Linked DNA regions of Homo sapiens: all the other regions are linked to region 3. Evidence: promoter capture Hi-C in 16 types of primary human blood cells and fetal thymus (Javierre and others, 2016). All regions are on one chromosome and are shown on one strand. The core of a region is centred on a gene start or on the middle of the fragment in contact, and the rest is flanking DNA. Distances in the headings are between cores, read along the strand shown.

The links. Contacts are between HindIII fragments. The CHiCAGO score rates a contact against its expected background, and 5 or more counts as called.
Region 1: a contact is called between a fragment that was not itself captured here and the fragment with the promoter of MYL10 in region 3, in 4 of 17 cell types (fetal thymus, activated CD4 T cells, monocytes and 1 more). The highest score is 8.5, in fetal thymus.
Region 2: a fragment that was not itself captured here is called in contact with the fragment with the promoter of MYL10 in region 3 in 1 of 17 cell types (M0 macrophages); the score reaches 6.1 in M0 macrophages.
Region 4: a fragment that was not itself captured here is called in contact with the fragment with the promoter of MYL10 in region 3 in 3 of 17 cell types (naive B cells, endothelial precursors and non-activated CD4 T cells); the score reaches 5.9 in naive B cells.
Region 5: a fragment that was not itself captured here is called in contact with the fragment with the promoter of MYL10 in region 3 in 15 of 17 cell types (total CD4 T cells, fetal thymus, M1 macrophages and 12 more); the score reaches 15.0 in total CD4 T cells.

The regions. Positions count from the first base shown.
Region 1 is chr7:102,209,867-102,212,566 of GRCh38, forward strand. All of the region lies in intron 20 of CUX1 (cut like homeobox 1), which reads left to right. Among named protein-coding and RNA genes, the nearest start is that of SH2B2, 76 kb to the right of the region's middle. RefSeq lists an enhancer at 1,919-2,228. The HindIII fragment of the contact is 5,067 bases long and covers 1-2,700 here.
Region 2 is chr7:102,162,664-102,165,363 of GRCh38, forward strand. The region is part of intron 9 of CUX1 (cut like homeobox 1); the gene reads left to right. Among named protein-coding and RNA genes, the nearest start is that of SH2B2, 120 kb to the right of the region's middle. RefSeq lists enhancers at 422-1,317, 1,318-2,211. The HindIII fragment of the contact is 2,528 bases long and covers 157-2,684 here.
Region 3 is chr7:101,627,946-101,630,645 of GRCh38, forward strand. MYL10 (myosin light chain 10) reads right to left here and starts at 1,351. Exons shown (of 8, transcript NM_138403.5): 1 at 1,096-1,351. The coding sequence starts at 1,173. The HindIII fragment of the contact is 16,008 bases long and covers 1-2,269 here.
Region 4 is chr7:102,190,494-102,193,310 of GRCh38, forward strand. The region is part of intron 12 of CUX1 (cut like homeobox 1); the gene reads left to right. Among named protein-coding and RNA genes, the nearest start is that of SH2B2, 95 kb to the right of the region's middle. The HindIII fragment of the contact is 2,866 bases long and covers 1-2,746 here.
Region 5 is chr7:102,254,476-102,257,175 of GRCh38, forward strand. It overlaps CUX1 (cut like homeobox 1), which reads left to right. Exons shown (of 24, transcript NM_181552.4): 24 at 1-2,700. Among named protein-coding and RNA genes, the nearest start is that of SH2B2, 31 kb to the right of the region's middle. The HindIII fragment of the contact is 349 bases long and covers 1,147-1,495 here.

The DNA.
Region 1 (2,700 bases), core at 70-2,569, 580 kb after region 3:
TGTATCTTATTCTATTTATTTTATTTATTTTTTATAGACAGACGGGGACTCACTCTGTTGCCCAGGCTGGAGTGCAGTGACACAATCACAGCTCAATACAGCCTCAATCTCTCAGGCTCAAACAATCCTCTCTCCTCAGCCTCCTGAGTAGCTGGGACTTATAGACACTTTCCACCACACTCAGCTAATTTTTTTATTTTTTGTAGAAGTGGGTCTCTCTTTTTTATTCGTTTTTGTTTTTGTTTTTTGAGATGGAGTCTCGTTCTGTCACCTGGGCTGGAGTGCAGTGGCGCGATCTCGACTCACTGCAACCTACACCTCCGGGGTTCAAGTAATTCTCCTTCCTCAGCCTCCCAAGTAGCTGGGATTACAGGTGCCTGCCACCACACCCAGGTAATTTTTGTATTTTTAATAGAGATGGGGTTTCACCATGTTGGCCAGGCTAGTCTCCAACTCCTGACCTCGGGTGATCCTCCCACCTTGGCCTCCCAAAGTGCTAGGATTACAGGTGTAAGTCACCACACCCGGCCTTTTTTATTCTTTATTTCCAAATACCCAAGTAACCTGGTCTCTGTTGCCAGGGCTGGTCTCAAACTCCTGGCCTCCCAAAGTGCTGGGATTACCGATGTGAGCCACCATACCCGGCCACTTTGTAACTTTTTAATGTGGGAGCGTTTCATTGCTGTGGCTAACAAGCTGTTACGTCTGCATTCACACTGGCTTCAGGTGTATTATGGCTATCCAGGTGGAAGGATGGTCCCCTGCCCTTGGCTGAATCGTGAAATACCCAGCTCTTTCCTGGCGTGTTAGGAATGATGGGTTCCAAGCCTTCTCTGCTGCCTGTTGCTGTTCCCAGTCAGCCAACAGAGTATCAGTTGCCTCTTTGAGAAGACAGCTGCTATGGTCTGTCTCTAATGTGGGTGGTCCAATGTGTGCCCCTCTTTGACGTGAAGCCCACGGGGCCGTGGGCTGTCCATGACCTTGTACAACCAGGAGATTCCCCTTGGCTGCAGCCCCTATCGCGGACAGGTCCACGTTCCTTTTGAATGTGCATGCGTATCATGGTCATGGCTCTTAGCTGGTTCCCACCAGACAGCCAGGAACACGTGTCCAGGGCTCGTGAGCTTTGAACTCTGCAGTAAGATTCTAAAGCAGTGTCCTTGATAAGCAGTCAGTCGGCTCTCCCACATTCATGGCTAACAGTCAGTGTCGGGGGCATGTGGATAGCATGTTCATAGGGACAGGAGAGGCTGATTGCACCCCTGGGCATTCCACAGCACTGTCTAAAGCAGGCAGGGGCCAGGCGCGGTGGCTCACACCTGTAATCCCAGCCCTTTGGGAGGCCGAGGTGGGTGGATCACTTGAGGTCAGAAGTTTGAGACCAGCCTGGCCAACATGGTGAAACTCGGTCTCTACTAAAAATATAAAAATAAGTCAGGCATGGTGGCTTGCACCTGTGATCCCTGCTACTCAGGAGGCTGAGGCAAGAGTATCACTTGAACCCAGGAGGTGGAGGCTGCAGTGAGCAATGATAGCATCACTGCACTGCAGCCTGGGTGACAAAGCGAGACCCTCTCCGCCCGCAAAAAAAGAATACCTCTTCAATTGGAGACATTAAAGAATCAGCTTTTCGGCTGGGCGCAGTGGCTCACACCTGTAATCCCAGCACTTTGAGAGGCCGAGGCAGGTGCATCACCTGACGTCAGGAGTTCGAGACCAGCCTGGCCAACATGGGGAAACCCCGTCTCTAGTAAAAATACAAAAATTAGCCAGGCGTGGTGGTGCACACCTGTAATCCAGCTCCTTGGGAGGCTGAGGCAGGAGAATTGCTTGAACCCGAGAGACCCAGGTTGCAGTGGGCCGAGATTGCACTATTGCACTCCAGCAGGGTGACAAGAGTGAAACTCCATCTAAAAAAAAAAAAAAAAAAAAAAAAACTCAACCTGATCTCGGCTGAGCTAAGATGCAAAGGGACTGGCTGTGCCACTGTGAACCCTTCCAGAGGCAGGTGAGGCAGGCCGCGCGGGAGCAGCACGGGAAGTCCCGGCTGATGAGATGAGGCTGGGGGGCCGCCCCAAGAGCCACAGGAGGAAGGGCACATGCGCTTCTCAAAAGTTCCTTGATGTGTGATGTATAGGGATCACTCAGGGACCTTGCCGGAAAGCCCCTTTGTCACTGTGCGTGACCTGCTTGTTCAGTTCCCCAAGCGCCTCCAGATGCTTGTGGGATTCAAGATGGGGGCTGGCCACATGTTGCTGGAACCAGCACCCTGTGACATTTATGCAGGAGAACATGGGTATTTGAAGGGTCTTTTGTTCCTAGGACAGCCCTGCCTGGGGGACCCTGCACACACAGATCCTGCACAGATGTCAGGGGCAGCCAGTGCTGAGTACCACAGCCCACTTTAGGTTTTGTTTCAAAGCAACAAACGTCGCTGTCATCAAGTGAGCAAGGCAGCCTACGCAGGCTGCCAGCACCGCCCCAGCACCCTGCAGTCCCACCTTCCAGCACCACTCGTCACACACCCTTGGGGAAGGCTGCTTTGCCAGAACTCGGCCCCCCAAAGTCTCTGTTCCTAGAGCAGAATTTGTCCCTGTGCCTCACCCAAAGAGAGGGAAGTCATAGCCCAGAGTCACCGATTTATTTGACTTTTTTGTTTTTATTATGATTTGCAGGATTTTTTCCAAGAAGTAAAATGCA
Region 2 (2,700 bases), core at 171-2,670, 530 kb after region 3:
GCCACCACACCCAGCTAATTATTGTGTTTTTAGTAGAGACGGGGTTTTGCCATGTTTGCCCAGGCTGCTCTTGAACTCCTGGGCTCAAACGATCCACCCACCTCTGCCTCCCAAAGTTCTGGGGTTACAGGCATCAGCCACCATGCCCAGCCAGGAAGCTTATTCCCAGTGGTCTGGCTCTCCAGAGTTGCCACGCTGAAAGATGCTTGCTCTGGAGAGAGTGAGCTCCCTGTCACCAGAGCTATGCAAGCAGATTCAGGCCAGCCCTCCCAGAGAGCATGAGATGGGGAATCACGCACAGAGTGGACCGAAGGAGGGATTGAACAAGAAGGCTCAAAGGGTCCCTTTTGACCCTGAAGTCTAGGATTTCGTGAAGCTACAGGTGAACCCATTGGCATGAGAAGCATCCAGGGAGGAAAGATGCAAGCCCTTGGAATATCGAGAGAATATTTCCAGCAGGAAAAGAAGTGGAAGGTTAAAGGAAAGCCAGAGAAGGGGACGTTGCCCTGGGCCATCAACTAAGAGAAAAGCTGCCCAGAGCCAGGCATGGTGGCGGCGGTGCCTATAGTACCGGCAGTTGGAGAGGCCGAGGCAGGAGCATCACTTGAGCCCATGAGTTTGAGACCAGCCTGGGCAACATAGTGAGACTTTTTTCTCTACAAAAAAGTTTAAAAAAAAAAAAATAGCCAGGTGTGGTGGTGTGCACCTGTGGTCCCAGCTAACCCAGGAGGCTGAGATGGGAGGATCTCTTGGGCCCGAGAGTTCAAAACCAACACCAGAGATGCGGGTCAGAGAGTGGGCTGGTAGGACGGGACCTGGCCAGGCCTGTGGGAGGGTCTGAGTATGAAGGATTCATCCTGGGAGCAGTGAAGAATCGTAGGCGGGATTGAGACATCAGGTTTGAGTTCTAGAAGGATCTCTCTGGCTATACATTGGAGAACAGATGGGAGTGGAAAGACCAGAAGCCAGGAGAGCTGTGGGAGGCTATTGTGTAAGTATGGGGAGAGATGGCATGGGCCTGAGCTGAGGCCATCCCTGCGGAGGTGAGCTGGAGGCGGGCTGGGCAGGAAGAGGAGGGCGCAGACACAGTCCAACACTGGTGCAGGTGGCAGGCATCTGGACCAACACCTTTCCCATCAGGAAACCCCCCAGGAGGAGCAATTTACTAGCTCACTGGCATACAACATTCGTTTTCCCTGGGTGTGTAGTTAGAATGTTCTACGGAGACCTGAAGTGCTCGTTTATTGCTCAACCACTGTGCTCCTGTTATGGAGAAGTAGCAGAGGGGTCGGCACCTGTCAGTTATGTCCGAGCCTCATTCACACCTGTTTGTTGAACATCAGGGCACTGGCATAAATACTCACTGTCCCAATTGGTGACAGTAAAGGATCAGATCTCTTGAGACTTCATGGTCAATAAGAAGCCACAGCTTTACACTTTGAACTGCATGTGAAACCCCGTCCCGTCCGGGGGCTTTCAGCAATTCACAGCCTTTTTGTGGTGAAAAAAAGTGGCCCGCCCACCACCCCTCCGGGGCCTCCTTTCTGAGCAGTGGTGATCCGAGTTGCTGGTGGGTCTCAAACTCCTGGGCTCAAGCTATCCTCTCGCCTTGGCCTACCAAAGTACTGGGACTACAGGCATGAGCTACTGCGCCCGGCTTTGAAGCCAGCATTTCTTTACTACCTACGAGGCCTGCTCAGAGTCCGTGCTCAAAAAGATGTATTGAATGAATATGGGCTTTGACGCACAGGCTGGAGCGCAGTGGCATGTTCTCCTAGCCCACAGTGGGGCTGGGAGGGAGTCATTGAAGTGAGCTGCCCTCTTCCTGTTCACCTGCCTGGTGTTTATGTCACAAGACTGCCCTAGTGGAGGACTCTCCAGGTTGAGGTTAGGGGTTGGAAACCACAGCTGACCCTCACCACGGAGAGTGGGTCTCCATGGAGGCCTTGGCCACTGGTGCAGCATCAGCGTGGGACACGTGGTGGTCAGCATTTGGTCTCCAGCTGTGGTAGCTGTTCCCGACCTCCTTCCTGCAGAGTCAGTGACATGGAGTTACCTCTGGGAGTCGAGATGTTCACTGTAATTGCATGCTGCGGGTAGGGCAGCAGGGCCTTAGCCCATCATCAGCTCCTGGGTCTACTTTGTTCCTCGGGGGACTTGCTCATCTCTGGTGTCCTCAAGCCTGAGTTTTAATGGCCATGCAAGCAGAGAACAAGAGACAAAACCTGGGGCCAAGAAGGGGGTGGAAGATTGGATCAGAGAAAACCCCCCTCCCCCGCCATATAAAACCAGGGACTTCAAAGGCCACACTCTGAAAGTGTAAACTGGCAGGGTGGGGGAAGGAGTCTGCCCTTAAAGGGGAGACGGTGAGGGTTCTCTCTTGTTGGTTCCAGAGGGAGAAGAAAATGAGCCTCCCAAGAGAATTCCTAACCACAGCCACCTCTCCACAGGTCTGGGGCCATGTCGCACATGAGACCCCCCAGCCCTCTCCCCACACCTTCGCCCCACCAGGCTGCAGCTGGCCCAAGGCCCTGTCTTTATCCTCTGCAAGCCCACCCCTCTCTGTGTCCTTCCCATGATGCCTTACCACGTTTTATGAGTCAAATTGTTCAGACTTTAGAGGCCTGGAAGTAGCTGTCTACATCCTGTATTCACATCCCAATCGGGCACTGCGGTTAGGGGAAAGCTTTTTTTTTTTTT
Region 3 (2,700 bases), core at 101-2,600:
CACCCTCTAGGAGGCTCAGCCATCTCATAGGAATAGGGGGGAGTGTATGAAACCCCCGGTCTGCTTATGGAGAGAGTTTCTGCACCAACCTGGCCCTCGGGGGCCCCTTCTACCAATATGCCTATTATCAGGGTGTCCATTAAGCACCCCCAGGCCAGGGGACCCCCTCAGGGCACTGAAATGCTCAATGAACAGAGAAAGCAACAGGACAAATAAAAGAAAAATGGGGTGGGCGCAGTGGCTCACGCCTGTAATCCCAGAGCTTTCGGAGGCCAAGAGGGAAGGATCGCTTCAGGCCAGGAGTTCAAGACCAGCCTGGGCAACATAGTGAGACCCCTATCTCTACAAAATATCAAAAAAATTAGCCGAGCATGGTGGTGTGCTCTTGTAGTCCCACCTACTCAGGAGGCTGAGGCAGGAGGATTGCTTGAGTCCAGGAGTTTGAGGCTGCAGTGATCTATGATTGTGCCACTGCACTCCAGCCTGGGCGACAGAGTGAGATATTGTCTCTTAAAAAAAAGAAAACAGAAAACTGGAGGTGACTCTGATGAGGAAGAACTGAAAAATGAGACCTCCATTCCACCCTGGCCTCACACACACACATCCATCCCCACCAGGCCTGGCCCAGCCCAAGAATTCTCTAGTAGATCTGCCAAACAGAGCCCACACCTGCCCTGGAAAGCCCCTCCTGTGTCTAGTGCAGCCCCAGCAGCCCCAGCTCGGCCTCAGAGGCTGCCACTGTCCATCTGGGGCCCGCCATATCTGAACAGCTGCCAGGGCCGGCAGTGCTGGGTTCAGGCAGTGAGCCCACGGGTCCCCAGGGGCTGGAGAGCTTAACTGTCCCTGGAGCTGGCCTCAGGCCTTCAGCCCCGGGTACAGCTGATCCCCTGCCTTTGGGGAAGGGAATATCATAATAATAATAAGAAGAGCAGCTAATATACAACACAGAAGGTCAGGCCATGTCTTAAAACACGTGTCCTCACATTCAATCCATATCCCATTTTCCAGATGAGGAAACTGAGGCACGCATGGGTTAAGTCACTCACCCAAGGCAGATAAGAAGTGGGGCCAGAGGCCAGGCACAGTGGCTCATACCTGTAATCCCAGCACTTTGGGAGGCCGAGGAGGGAGGATCACTTGAGGCCAGGAGTTTGAGACCAGCCTAAGCAACATGGTGAAACTCTGTTTCTACAAAAAAATTTTTTTTAATTAAAAAATTAGTCAGGCATAGTGGTGAAGTGAAAAAGTTCCCTTATCCCGTTCATAGGGCATGCGATGGGGGTGTGGCTCGCTTCTTCCATGCCCAGCTGCTCAAACCTCTAGGCGGACCATGCAGACAGGCAGGCTATGGGGCTCCGACCCCACGGCAGTGTCTAGGGGTGGATGCTTACAGCTCCTGAAGCCCCAGTGGGCGTGTGTTACAGGATGCTCTTTTACTTTTGCCATCTGTAGGTGGCTTGTGTTCATCAGCTCAGTTAGACCCTCTGCCTTATTGCAAGGACAAAGGGCTTTTTGTATCCTGGGGTTCTTGCCTTGGTGTACTGTGAAAATTGAATCACATGTGGGCTTGGAGAATGAGTGCGAGGTTTTATTGAGTGGTGGAAGTAGCTCTCAGCAGATGATGGGGAGCCAGAAGGGGGATGGAGTGGGAAGGTGATTTTTCCCCTGAAGTCAAGGTGCTCAGCAGCCAGACTCTCCTCTGACCATCCCCAGCCAAATTCCCCTGGGCATTTGTGTTATTCAGCCAGTCGATGGCCTGCCAGCATCTGCCAGTGCTGTCGGTGTGCTCTTCCGATCCTCTGCTCCTCTTGATGTCCAGCCACCTGTGTGTGTACCCACTGGGGTCTCAGGGTTTTCATAGGCACAGGATGGGCGGGGGGGCGGGGGGCGTGGTGGGCCAGGGTGGTCTTGGAAAATGTGACATTTGGGCATATAAACAGGAGTGCCTGTCCTCACCTAGGTCCGTGGGCACAGGCCCAAGGGTGGAGCCCTTGCCAGGGACCCTGCCTTTCTCCTCTCAGCACTTCCCTGTCCCCCCTCCTGTATCAGTGGCACATGCCTGCAGGCCCAGCTACTTAGGAGGCTGAGGTGGGAGGATCACATGAGCCCAGGAGGTTGAGGCTTCAATGAGCTGTGATTGCACCACTGCACTCCAGCCTGGACAACAGATCAAGGTCTCATTTCTAAAACAAAAAAAAAAAAAAAAAAAAAGAGAGAGAGAGAGGGAGGGCCAGGACAAGAGCCCCTCTTTCTAGTGTTTCCAGAAGGAAGCTTCCAAAAGGTTCTGCTCATCCAAACTCTCCCCTCCTCCTGCTCCCTCCCAGTCATCCCTGACTACAGCTATTTCTGATGTCCCTAAACTCCTGTGACTGAGTGCTCCTCCCAGAGCTGGGGCCAGGTCCAGCCATGATGCTGTGCAGCCCGCTTTCTGCAGCAGGAAACCGTGTGCCTCAGTTTCCCCGACAGGGCTGCTCTCCTGGTGTCCTGGCGTTCCTCTCCGGGGAGAAAAACCACACGTTCCACAGGTGTTCAACAAGCCAGGCGGAAAGGAGAACCCAGCTCTGGGGACGGGAGCCTGGATTCCAGTCCCAGCCGCCTGGACCTGCTACAGAAGGGGGCCTGTGTGACCGCGACAGTGGCTAGGGTGCAGGCTTTCCATGCCCGGTCTGTGAGCCTGGCCCTGGGGCCTCCTGGCTCTGG
Region 4 (2,817 bases), core at 64-2,563, 560 kb after region 3:
TCCAGGCTCACTGACCTCCCCTGCAAGCCTGGAGCCTGTGGTCAGACCCTCTACGTTCATACAGCTCCCCTGGATCGTCAGCCATTCCAAGCCTTCCCACTGGCATGCCCGCCTCACTCCTAGGTTATTAAGCACTGCAAACGAAGGTTGCCTAGGGCATGGTGACCAGCCCCACAGGTCCCCCGTGCTTCTCGCGGCTGGAGCTCTGCTGGTTCGAGGCTTCCTCAGGGGTTCCTCCCTGCCCTTGTCACTGTTACCCCAACCACTATCCACAGATGCCCTAGCCCTCTGCTAGGGACAGACTCCCGCCTCTGGTCTTGGGTGCCACCTCCCATCTCTGCAGGCTGCCCCCTCTGCCTAGACCTTGAGTCCCTTCCTTCCTGCCCCTCCTGCTGTCCCATCAGCCCCTTTCTCTCTTGCTGCTATTTTCCATTTCTCCTTTTAAGATGAGCCTACACCCACTCACCACGTTTTCTTTGTGTTGTTAATTCCATTCTGCTAAGAAAAGCTCCTCGGGCATCCTCTTGAACCATCTCACTTCCATGACCAGCTGCCTTCTCTCGCCTGGGACCCCCAGCCTCCCTGGCGTCTGCTGGCCCTGGTAGTCCCTGTCCCCACCATGCTCTCCCCCTGAGCGGTCTCATCCCCTCTCCAGCTGCAAAGCCTCTGCCGGCACCTCCTCGGACAGACCCCTACATCCCTCTAACAGTTCCAGCCTCTGTAACTTACTTACTTGCTTGCTTACTTATTTATTTATTTGACAGAGTTTAGCTCTTGTTGCCCAGGCTGGAGTGCAATGGTGCTATCTCGGCTCACCGCAACCTCCGCCTCCCGAGTTCAAGCGATTCTCCTGCCTCAGCCTCACAAGTAGCTGGGATTACGGGCATGAGCCACCACCCCGGGCTAATTTTGTATTTTTGGTAGAGATGGGGTTTCTCCATGTTGGTCAGGCTGGTCTCAATCTCCCGACCTCAGGTGATCCACCCACCTCAGCCTCCCAAAGTGCCGGGATTACATGTAACTTATTATTAAACATTACCTGGTTAACCTTCTCTACCTGCCTCTCCTATCCCATTCTTTCCTTCCTTTCCCTCTTCTTCCCTCTTCCAAAAAGAAAAAGAAATTGGGCCTTTTAATTTTGAGCCAGAGAAACTGCTGCGAAGGCCTTTGCCCAGCCTCACCCTGGGAGTTAGTCGTCGTCTTCATTGTCGTCTTCGTTGTCTTCTTCTTTCTTCCTCTCTTCTTCTTTCTTCCTCCTCCTCTTCTTCTTTCTTCCTCTTCCTCTTCTTCTTCCTCTTGCTCCTCCTCCTCCTCCTCTTCTCCCCCAACCCCCACGTTCACTTCATCCCCTGGGAGCTGAGGCTTCCAGGCTCCAGCCTGCAACACATACCGTTCTACTCCCTCTCATCCACAGCCTGCCGGACCACAGGCTGCCCCTACCCCCACTGAAGGGCTGCCACACCAGCCCCGCTTGTCACTGCATTTCTGCTAACTCTTTCTGTTGCGTCCGCACATGACAGGCCCCACCACCATGTGCACATCTGGAAGCCCCACTCAGGTGGCTTCTTTGCCCAAATGCGCTCCTAGTTTTCCACTTCCTGGTGAACCAGCTGTGCTCTTGAGCTCTTGCCCGCGTCCCCTTCTCAGCATCGTCCCATTTCCACTTCCTCACCCCCACGCAACAGGGGATGCTGACCTCAGATCCTCATGCACTGCAGCACAAGACACCCTGTCCCTTCAGGGCCCTTCTCCAATGCTTGTTCATCATGACACTGAGACGTGGTCTCCAATCCATCAAGATCCCTCCTGCTGGGGTCCTCACAAGTTCTGTCTTAATGGACCACTTGGAGTCTTGCCTATTACCTGTAATGGCCTGTAAATTTCCTGGAGTACGGACCAGGAGTGGTTCTGATTCCCCACGGCAACAAGCGGATAGCAGGCTGCTGGTAAAGATCTGTAGAATAGATAAAGAGCCACGTGGTCTTTTATTACATAATCCTAAAGAAAATAGGAAACGAAGGACAGGATTCCATCTTAAGAAACCCCTTTCAGCTGGGCGCAGTGGCTCACATCTGTAATCCCAGCACTTTGGGAGGCCGACAGATCACCTGAGGTCAGGAAACCAGCTTGGCCAAAACCGTCTCTACTAAAAATAAATTATCCAGGTGTGGTGGCTCACACTAGGGGGACAGAGGCCGAAATTGTGGCTGCAGGAACATGGCGAAGGTCCGGTTGACTCTGCACCTGCGAGTCGTAAATCTCACGGTCCAGCCAGCCTGCTCTGGGTCTCTCTCTTCCATCCTTGGTATTTCAAAGAAACACTTGCAGCTCCTTCAAAGCCACATAGCCTCACTTCCCCTCTTCTCCCTGGTAAACTCAGCAAAAAAGGGACATCCACAGCAAAAGGAACTCAAGAAACAGTAATAATCCTGGGGACCTGGACTCACTGAGACAGCCCAGAGACCGTAGTGATCAGGGTGCGGCCCTTTTCAGTGCCATTGAGAACAAGGGAGGGAGAAGTCACCTTCTCTTGCCACATCTTTGTCATTGCACTCCTTCCCCAACCTGGGGCTGCAGAGAAGGTCTGCCCACCTGGCTTCTGAGTCATCCAAGTCTAGGAGGTTGCTCTTTGCCTATGTCCCCTGGTCCCCAGGTAGGTGCCAGTTAGGAGTGAGGTGTGGGCAGTGGCCGCCCTGGTGGGTTCCCCTCTCTCTGGCTTCTCCTTACAACTTTTTCCTTCCCTTTAAGCTTTACAAATACATTCCACTTGCAACAATGTTATGTCTGTATTAAACTTTAAAATTATACTCTGAACAG
Region 5 (2,700 bases), core at 71-2,570, 630 kb after region 3:
CAAAAGAATATGCCAGTTCCCATCCAGCACCGAAGAAAATCAGCTCCTGGGGCTGGTGGTTGGAGGTGGGTCTGTCCACTGTGGGGGCCAAAGTGTTCCCCTGCTGGAGACAGTTTGCAAGTAAGAACCTAAGGATGGGGACAGCATCCTGTGCTTGGGCATTGACCAGCCAAAGCTCACATTTAGAAAGCCCTCAGTGCTTCTGTGGTTTCACCTGGGCATCGACGACATTAGGGAAGCCTTTGTGACCACAAGGGCAGGGCTTGTGCCCTGAGTGGCGAGGTGGTGACCTGAGGCCAGTGTGATGTGGTTGGATCTCAGCGTGTACTGAATGCCAGTCTGGCCGGCACACTCGAACGCTAAGAGAATGGTCCAATTTGATGATCTTATTTCTATTTCGATCAGGTTTTGACTTTTTGTAGATGAAAACTACCAGGGAAAAGGGGAAGCAGGTACCCAATAAAGTTTAGAAAGATCCAGTCTGTGAAACCCTTAGAGATGGGCTGAAAGTTAAGTCCACCAACCCTTGGGCTTAATCAGGACGGAAGAGGAGGGGGTGTGGGGGGCAGAGCGTAAAACAAGCCCCAGCCCTACTCCCGGCCCCCCAGCCCAGTCTTCCCAATCCCAGAGGCCCCGGCGGCCTGTGCTCCTCACCACCCTGGTCAGGGGAATAGAAGGAAATGCAATTTCCGCCTGTCTGCCCGACTTCCAAAAACTGCCTCCTCCTGCCCAGGCCTCTCCCACCACCACCTTCCCTCCAAAGATAACCGTGTCCATGCCATCCGTGGCATCATCTCGAGTTTTCATTTTTGGATGAAGTGACATTTAGCTTTAACAAGACATTTCCAAAGCGCCTAGTCTCCTCCAAAATGCTAACTTTAAAAGTTGGGCATTGTAGGCGAAAAATCCCAAAAAAAAAAAAAGACAAAAAAAAAAGGCTGGCGAGAGAAAGACATTTGGCTATGCATAAATGTGCACTTCCCCCATGCCCCCGTTCTTAAACTCTTAAGATGCCTTTGAGTTGCTTTTCATGAATCCTTTTAGTTTACCCGATAATGTTAAGAAAGCATTAGTCTACGTTACTGTAATTTCTGTAGTGTTTACGCTTTAATTTCTACCACAAAATATGCTATATGCTATGTATCAAGCTTTCTGTAATCAGAAAGAAAAGGTGCCTTATATCCCAATGTCACGGCTACATCCCTATGGAAATTAATCAGAAGCACAGTGTGTACGGAAGCATTGGGACTTCTGCTGGTGAAACAAGAGACCATTCAGCAAGACACATTGAAGTGGCACGGAGCTGCTTTTGTTTTATAATTCTTTTTTCCCCCCTTTTCCTTCTTCTTTTTTATTATTTTATTATTTTTTTTGTACTTTGCTTTAAACGGAAAGCACTTAAATAGATGACTATGTGTAAAAGCTCTGTGCAATTGAAATCATTTTTCTTCATTTTAAAAAAATAACGTATTGCACACCAAATGAACTCAAAGTAAGCTTTAGACCAGGACGATTCAGGTTATGAATGAGTTTGTTCACTGTAGTTCCGTTTGTTCATGAACCGAAGGGAAAACAGGCCTCCCCGACTCCCTCCAGTCTCCCAGCCTGCCTCTTGGTGACCACTGTGCTGGGCGTGCAGGGCCCGCGGGCTCTGGCCGGAGCCGCTGGCCTGACGAGGCAGGATAGGGAGTATCCGTGATTCAGAAGCTGAGACCCTTCCCCAGTGTCTGAGGCCACAGCCATCCCTTCCAGCACTTAATCTTGTCTTGTTGAAATGGACTGACTGCTACTGACCTGCCGGCGTGCGTGAGGGTGATTATAAAAGGATGTTTCCTTGAGAAAAAAAAAATTATTTCTATCCTCTTCTATTTATTATTAGGTTAATCATTTAAGTACTTATCAGGAGTGTATTGTTATTTTGTGTTTTGTTGTCATAAATGCTTTTTGCTGTCACTCTAGTGGTTACTATCCTCTGCCTTCCTCTCCTCCCCTACTCCCCCAGAGAACCAAGGCGTCTGGGGGATTGACTGGGGGGCAGAGGGGGTTTCCCCAGCAAAATCAAACACCTGTCTCCAGAGTAGCCACTCAAAAACTGGTGGTCTCTATGTGTCTAACTTTTTAAATGAGAGTGTTTATGAACAAAAAAATTTACCAACGTGTGAGGGAGTTGCTGAGTTGAAGAATGCTCGCTTGAGGAGCTTCAGAGGAATCTTAGCAAAGCCAAGTTCAGTTCCCCAAAGCCTCCTAGAGCCTCTGGTAAGACTTCTGGGTTCATGAAGTTTCGGCGAGCCGTGGTCAGAGAGGGCGCGGTGGCCTGGCCAAGACTTTACCTCCAAGCGAGAGAGTGATTTCTTGCAAGGCCCGCATGGGTTGATACGTTTTGGTTGGTTTTTTGTTGTTGTTTTTCTTGCGTACAAAGTTGGTCAAAACCATCTTTCAAAGCAACAGTGTTTTGTAGTACCAGGCTGTGGCTTGAGGGCTCACCTAGGAGATCATAGGCAGAGGGCCCCTTTCCCCTATAGGTGGTTCAACGTGGAGGAAGGTTGGGTGTGGAGATTGCTTGCTGTGGCCCCAAGCTCAGCCAGCAGGACACCCAGTTGTTGCCAATCAGGTGTGAAGGTGAGGCGCCCTGCCTTGATCCCATGGGCCCAGCAGAAGGAAACTTACCCCAGGCCAAGGCAAGGGCCCTGCTCACCCCAA